2 separate regions of the Homo sapiens genome follow, and region 2 is linked to region 1. The links are contacts of gene promoters, found by promoter capture Hi-C in blood cells and fetal thymus (Javierre and others, 2016). All regions are on one chromosome and are shown on one strand. Each heading gives the region's core, a stretch centred on a gene start or on the middle of the fragment in contact. The rest is flanking DNA. Distances are from core to core; before and after follow the strand shown.

Region 1 (3,867 bases), core at 1,255-3,754:
TTATTTCTTCTTAAAAAAAGTAGGATACCTGTACAGAACGTGCAGGTTTGTTTCATAGGTACACATGTGCCATGGTGGTTTGCTGCACCTATTGACCCATCCTCTAAGTTCCCTCCCCTCACCCCTCACCCCCCAACAGGCCCTGGTGTGTGTTGTTTCCCTCTCTGTGTCCATGTGTTCTCAATGTTCAACTCCCACTTATGAGTGAGAACATGCGGTGTTTGGTCAGGATGTTTTTAAGTGGGAGCTCACAGGTCATAAACAGATTCAAAGATTTTATGATTTGCAATTGGTTAAGGAAGAGAAACTTTGTTTAAAAATTTGGGGTCAGCAGAAAAGAGTGTTAGCTCTGGCTTGTAGGTGTGACATTCTTCAGGCCCCTCAGGAAGAAATTTAGAACAAAGAGTGGTGGTCAGAGCTCAGTGCCCAGTGTCCCTTCATCTGAGGTCTATGTGCCCAGGCATCCCTTTTGGTGGGGTTTGGGTTTCTGACAAACAACTCTGGGACATATGTTAAGGTGCTATCTTTAGTTTCTATGGCGGAACCAAACATCCCACGATTCCAGCTTTCGTGGCTGTTGTTTTGGGCTACTGTTATCTTCTTGCTTGTCAGGTTGCTTATTTATTTCTCCAGGCTAGCAAGGTGCCCAGAATTTCCCTTGAAGGAACTCAAGATTGTCCTTTATTTCCATGCTTGAGGGGACCTGAAGGCCCCTACGAGGGCGTCCCTGCTCCATCTCAGAGTGCACTAGGTGGTCTCTAATCTGGAGAAGACTCTGCTAGCCTTACAAAGAAAAACTAAGATGACATGTGACATGGCTTCAGAGGATCCCCATGGGAGCTGTCACAGAGTTGCAGCCCCACCAGCACATGCTAAGGATGTGTTCAGAGCGGAGGGAGGTAAGGAGAGCTCAGACCTGGCCTGTGTGGGTGCAGGAAGACCTCCTGGAGGAGAGCAGGATGGGGAAGTGACAGAACAAGAGATGGCGAAAGGCTGAGAGGGAAGGATGGAGGGAAGATGGATGGGAGGGATGAGGAGGGATGGAGAGAGAAGGTGAGAAAGAGAGAAGGCAGGGATAGGAAAATTCGGGTAGTTTCAGTAAGAGCAAAGAAGACAAAATGGCAGGGGCAAGAGTAGAGGAAGGAATGCAGAGGATTGGGAGGGACTGGAGTCCAGGCTCTTCCCCTAAACAATATGAGAGAGAGCCCCAAACCAGCCTGTCTCCAGATTTTCTTCCCTCCTGTGCCCCACCCAGCAAAGAGCTGCTGTTCACCCATGGGGCTCCAGCAGGGATCTCTGGGCAAGGGTGATCTTCAGGGACAGAGCTGCCTTGGGTTGAATAGGGCCACAGTGGCAATGGCGATCATGGGAGTAGCTGGGGCCCAACACAGGAGCCAGTGGCTAGGAAGCAGGGGCTGCAGCCAGAGTCTCTGGGGCTGGCATCAAAGGACTGTTTGGAGTAGAATGACATCGTGCTTACTGGGTCGCCCCCATTGGGTCTTTCTGGTCTGAGCCTGCCTGGAGGCTTGCACTCCTGGGGAGGGCTCAGCCAGCCTTGTTCTTGGCTCACTTGGGCCTGGACAGAGGCAATAGGAGTTAAGTTTCATGTTGATAACAGCTTCTTTATTTGAACTCTAAACAGATGATTACTGTCCTCAAGTTGTTCCTAGTCTTATTAGCAGATACACATTGGAGGAGAGACAGAAATGAGGAAGTGGACCACCCAGGAATCTCCATAACCCTCCAGGCCATGGGCCAGCCTCTGTCTTTGTCTTCTCTGTACCTCCTTCCAGTCAAGTCCCTGAATTTCTCAGCCACCTGCCCCAACTCCATCCTCCTTTTCTCGTCCTCATTTTCTCCAGTGTTTGAAGCCTCCAGCCTGCTTTATTATGGGTGTTTGAGGGGGGAGAAGTGAGGATAGTGCCCGTGGTTGGCTCTGGCCTGGGCTGCTTCTGTCCCATGCTAGCGAGAGGGTCACTCCACCTCCTAATACCCCATGAGTGAGAGCAGCTGCCCTCTATGGGTTATGTTTCCAGGAGGCCTGGGGAGAGGTAATGCCTGATCAGTCCCTTTCCAGGAAGGAGGAGAACAGAAGTTGGAGGCCCCAGTACTCTACCCAGTGTCCTGAACTATCCAGGAAAGTCCATCCTGTCTTCACCTGCTGCATCCCCAGGAGGAAGCCAACAACCCAGAGAAGATTAATCAGGATAGGGATGGTGCAGTGCCAGTGACATCCCCCTGGAGAGGCCAGGGCCTGGGGCAAATTACCCTATAACAGCAGGTTAATTAGATAAGACCCAAATTACATGAGCAAAGCTTGCAAGCCCAGCAATTTGAAGGTTTCATGTTGTTTCAGAGGTGGAGAGGGCTTGATCTCTAGCTCAGCATAGAGAAAATGACTTCTTGCTCCCAGGCAAGCCAAACCCACGAATTAAGCTCTTGACTGCCCATCCACAAGCCCCAGTGCCAAGCACATATAAAGGCACCTGCCAGTCCTCACTACAACCAGCAGAACCTTTTGGGATTTTGCCTTCCTCCCTCCTGCATCTGAGCTTTGTCTCCACCAGCAACATGAGCCGCCAATTCACCTGCAAGTCGGGAGCTGCCGCCAAGGGGGGCTTCAGTGGCTGCTCAGCTGTGCTCTCAGGGGGCAGCTCATCCTCCTTCCGGGCAGGGAGCAAAGGGCTCAGTGGGGGCTTTGGCAGCCGGAGCCTCTACAGCCTGGGGGGTGTCCGGAGCCTCAATGTGGCCAGTGGCAGCGGGAAGAGTGGAGGCTATGGATTTGGCCGGGGCCGGGCCAGTGGCTTTGCTGGAAGCATGTTTGGCAGTGTGGCCCTGGGGCCTGTGTGCCCAACTGTATGCCCACCTGGAGGCATCCACCAGGTTACCGTCAATGAGAGCCTCCTGGCCCCCCTCAACGTGGAGCTGGACCCCGAGATCCAGAAAGTGCGTGCCCAGGAGCGAGAGCAGATCAAGGCTCTGAACAACAAGTTCGCCTCCTTCATCGACAAGGTGGGTCTTCTAGGGCCTGGGGAACTTGTGAACAGCCCTCCTCTTCTCTTCTTGGAACATACGATTTTGTTACAGCAGGAGAGATTGAGGTTAGATGTGAGGAAGACTTTACTGTGGACAAGGTAGGTACATCCCATCAACAGGGTGACCTGTGTAAGGTTCTCTGTGTTGTCTTTCCAGAGAGAAAACAGAGGCAGGTCAATTTCTACTGGCAGAGGCTTCTCAGGGCTCCCAGCAAGAGATGTGGTCCTTCCTCTTGAGGGCTAGCTTGGTGCCATTGCTAGGCCTGCAGGCCGTGTGCAGAAAAGGCCTGTGAGAGCCAGTCTCGCCCAGAGTAAGCAGGGAAGCTGTCCTCCTCCCCTGGCATGCTGCCCTGCCCACTGGTCACTTGCCCAGCGGATCAGGAGCAGCAGGAAGGGGCCGCTTCAGGCCCTCTGATTGGGCATTTGCTCCAGTCAGTTGAAGACTTTCTTGAGAGGCAGAAGAGGGCACTGGGGAAGGGGACTCCACGGTGCTCTTGTGCTCACTGCTGGCCACAGCTGAGTGGCTCTGGGAAGGTGATCTGCCTGTCTGTGTTGCCATCTCCTCATCTCTAAAATGGAGATAATAACTTCTGTCTTGGGGTTGTTGTCAGGCTTATAAAAGAAAATGCAGGTGAAGATCTTGTCACAAGCCTGACGCACACTAAATACTCCAAAAATGATTGTGATTGTGACTCTCATTTCTTATCTCTGGAATGTGGGGGAGGGAAGCTCAGGGGAGGAATCAAAGGTGTCTAGAGACCTGAAGAGATGACACAGTCCAGATAGGCCCCTGACTTCTGGCAGAGAAGAAATGATTATCCCTATCGTATGA
Region 2 (3,990 bases), core at 71-2,570, 150 kb after region 1:
AGGCAGAAAGGCCAAGTCACTTACCCAACTTGCCCACAGCTTGCACGGGACAGAGCCAGAATTCAAACCCAGGGGGCTAGGCTCCAGAGTCCAGGGCCGTTGCTGCAGCAGTTCTGCTGGAAAAAAAGAGAGATGGACATGATGAAGCAGAGAAGCTTTTAATGAATTGATGCTGCTTATCAAACTGAACCCCCTGACCAATTCCCTCTGCCTTAGGGGAGTGGTGAGTGGGCTGAGGAGCCCCAAGGAGCCTGAGGAAATAGCCTGGCTGTCTCTGTGGGTCTGGTAAGATGGATAATTGCTACCTCTGCAAATGGACCACAGGTAGAGGCCAGGCTCTGAACCCTCCCAGCGAGGAGGATGCACAGGGTCAGCCGGGAATTTCAGTGACTCAGAAAAAAACAGCTAGGCCAGCAGCACAGCCTTCTTCTACGTTCCCAAGGGAGGCCACTAGGTGAAGTGAACCTCCTCAGCAGCAAGAGAGAATGAAGGTAGCCTTAAGGAGGATCTCCCAGGGAGGACTCATCGCGGGAGAAGGTTCCTGAGGAATGGGGAGAAGAGTAAACTTGACAAGTGGCTACTCATCCATCTCAAGTGGGTGGAGGAGCTAGAGTTGCCAAGACAGGGCTGGACCTGGGCACTCCCCAGGGCATTCAGTCAGTGACAGGCAGAGTTGCCCCCAAAGGCCTGATGCCAAGATCTCTTCCAAAATCCACAAGCCCGACTAAAGCATTTTTTCCTGCCTTTTCCATCAGATACGAAGAGGAGCTCTCCCTGCGTCCCTGTGTTGAGAATGAGTTTGTTGCCTTGAAGAAGGTAAGGAGGAAGCTCAGAGAGGCAGAGCCCCTGAGCTGGCCTGCGTTGCCCCAGGCCACCTAGCCCTGAACTCAGTCCAAACGTGTCTGCAGCCCACCCACTCTGAAAAAGGGTTTTTCGCCCCTCAGACTCCTGTGCCAGCCCCACTAACTCTGAGAATGAGGAAGGCCGGCCTCCTCTCCCCCAACTTTGTCCCCTTGCAAAAGGCCAGCCATTGGCCTGGCCTCCACTTCCCCACTCATGCAGGCCGAAGCTGGGTTAAAGTCATGTCTAACCCTGCCCGAGCAGCTGGAGATGGGACAGATGCCAACGCCAAACCAAAACAAAAGCTCAAAAGCTCTGCCGCAAGCCCCCAAATACAATTGCGATGGTTCCTCAGACAGGTAGCCAGGTATTTCCAGGCCCAGGCTCTGCAAAGTGGGCTCTGAGATGCTGCTGCTAAGGCTCATTTAAGCCCCACCCCCTTCAGATCCTTTCCCATCAGGAAGCCAGGCCCAGGCCTGGGGTCCCAGGGCTAGGGACCCCTTTTTCCCCACCTCGGCTCCATCACCCCTTCGATGCCCATGGGTGTTCGTGAGGAAAGGTGAGCCCCACGCCTTCCCCCTGCCACCAGCTTGCCTGGGAGGTGGCCCAGCCAGGTCACATTCTGTCCCTGCTCTGCTGCAGGACGTGGACACAGCCTTCCTGATGAAGGCTGACCTGGAGACCAACGCAGAGGCACTCGTGCAGGAGATCGACTTCCTGAAAAGCCTGTATGAGGAGGTACCCACAGCCCTGACCTTGGGTGGTTAGTCAGGGCTGGAGCCAAGGGATCGAGAGGGCAGCAGAGTGGCCGCCCAGTGGGTACATTTCAGGGCAAGCATGGAAAGAGGTCCGCACTGTAGAGACGTTCTCAGGCGGTGAGACTCACAGAAGTTGGATCATCCAGGCCATGGCTCACAGGCCCCTCTGGGAAAGTCTCCACCAAGCTCTGGGCAACCAGAGGGTGGGGACAAGGAGTCAGTTGGTGACTGAAGCCCAGAACAGCCATAGCAGAGTTCTATGCACTCTGCTCTGGGAAGGTCAGAACGGGTTCTCCCCTTCTCCTGTCCCCGGACGCTCAGAGAGCTCACTCCTTCTCACATGGGCCCTGCCCCCAGGAGATCTGCCTGCTCCAGTCTCAGATCTCTGAGACCTCGGTCATTGTGAAGATGGACAACAGCCGGGAGCTGGACGTGGACGGCATCATCGCTGAGATCAAGGCGCAGTATGACGACATCGCCAGCCGCAGCAAAGCCGAAGCAGAGGCCTGGTACCAGTGCCGGGTGAGGCCCTGTGGTTGGGGGCAGGGAGACTGGAGAGGTGACAAACCAGGGGAGGGGAGGACCCCCAGACTCCTTCTCCGCAGAAGTGGGTGAGGAGCTAATGAGAGCCACGCCATGCCACAGACACAGGGAATCCCATAAAGCCCAGCTGCTGTTGTTTCTGCCAGGCCCCAGGCCACTTCCCTGCAGAGCACGTGGGAGGGACCCCTCCCCGCCCCGGACAATCCAGGCCTGTCATCAGGGTGCCAGGGCGCCCAGCAGTTTTTACCTGCAGACTCACTGGAAGTGCTCCTGTAGGCAGCGTTCAGTAAACACTAATTGGTTTTACTGAACTGTAATGATGGCAAAGAGGGCTCTAAGCTTCGAGGCGTGGGAGGAGGCTAGTGGCATGGGGTGGCTACTAATGGTAGAGCAGAAACAGTGATTAAGATGGCCTCAGACTTAATAATTAGGGGCTTGCTTGGAGGGCAGGGGGGCCCTAAGGGTAATTAGATTTAACAAATATCATCATCTCAGCCTCTCCTGCCCTGCCTGTGAAAGGCGCCATGCATGCATGCACTCATTGGTCCACTCATTCAACACTGTGTATTCAGCATCAACCACGTGCCAAGCACAGTTCTAGAAGCTGGAGACACAGCAGGGAACAGAACAGACACTAGTCCCTGCCTTCATGTCGCTTTCATTCCAGAGACAAGCTGGGTTCCAGGGTAGGGTTGGAGGGGCAGGGTGATGGATGATAAACAAGGCACATAAGTGCAGTGGATGTATGTTAGACTGTGATACCAAGTGCTAGGAAGCAAATAAACCAGGGGAAGGGTAGGGAGTGTTGGAGTGCAGTTTCAATTAGGGTGGCCAGCAAGGATGTGCTTCCCAAACCAAAACACCAGCTAGCAGGAAGTGATTGCAAAGGTGGAGCAGCAGGTAAAGGGAGTTTGATGACAGAGGGAACAAATTGTGTCACAAAGGCAAAGGTGTTGTCATTTGATCTAATCTTGAAGGACAAATAAGATTCAAAGGGGAGATGGGGGGAGGGTGTGCCAGGCTGAGCAGCAGGTGCTAGGACACAGCAGCAGAAATTGAGGGGCCTGGAGTGCCATGTGCTGTGGAGATCGGGCTGGAGGGGTAGCTTGAGGCCAGGTCACAGCATCTGCAGGGCTGTGCTAAGTCATTTGGCTTTGTTCTGAAGGCAGTGGGTGCCACTGCCCAGGGAGTGCCCAAAGTGATGCTCTGCCCATTTTCTGGAGCTCCATGGTGGTTGGAAGTATGAAAACTTGAAATGGAGTCAGCTCCTGGTGAACCTGTCTGTGACCCACCCACGGCCAGGTTTCACTCTGGCTGGCCCTTCCTCTGGTTGCCCCTGGCAACAACCATCAGCCATGTTGGGTTCAGGATTACAACCACCTCATTTTCCCATCCTGCTAAGTCAGAATCTTAGAGAAAATTCTATTAGTTGAAGATTGCATTTGGCTACCAGGATCAGAAATTCTAAAAAAAAAAAAAAAAGTTAAAATTGAATTTTTACTTTTTTCTAAAGTAGCTTGAAGTACAAAATAGACTGCCCAGGATGACACAGAGATTCTGTGACATCATCAGGGACCCAGGATCCTTTGAGTTCACCATTCTGCCATCTGTAATACATGCTCCATCCTCTTGGTTGCCTCATGTTCCAAGAAAGCTGCAGCACCTCCAATCTCACATGCTTACGCCTGGCAGCAAGGAGAACAGAGGCAAAAAAAGCCAACTGGGTCATTCCCCCCTTTAAAGAGCTTACCCAGAAGCCCTACCCAGCCATGGTCATAGATCTCATTGATTGGAAGACTGAGAAATATTCTCTTATCTGGGCTCATTGTTACCCTAAATAAAAGCAGTG

The links. The method cuts DNA at HindIII sites, captures the fragments that hold promoters and counts their contacts. A CHiCAGO score of 5 or more calls a contact.
Region 2: a fragment that was not itself captured here is called in contact with the fragment with the promoter of KRT71 in region 1 in 2 of 17 cell types (M1 macrophages and M2 macrophages); the score reaches 5.2 in M1 macrophages.

The regions. Positions count from the first base shown.
Region 1 is chr12:52,551,782-52,555,648 of GRCh38, reverse strand. It overlaps KRT71 (keratin 71), which reads left to right and starts at 2,504. Exons shown (of 9, transcript NM_033448.3): 1 at 2,504-3,012. The coding sequence starts at 2,572. The HindIII fragment of the contact is 3,012 bases long and covers 2,319-3,867 here.
Region 2 is chr12:52,398,115-52,402,104 of GRCh38, reverse strand. It overlaps KRT82 (keratin 82), which reads left to right. Exons shown (of 9, transcript NM_033033.4): 3 at 756-816; 4 at 1,483-1,578; 5 at 1,956-2,120. Among named protein-coding and RNA genes, the nearest start is that of KRT82, 6.2 kb to the left of the region's middle. The HindIII fragment of the contact is 2,325 bases long and covers 158-2,482 here.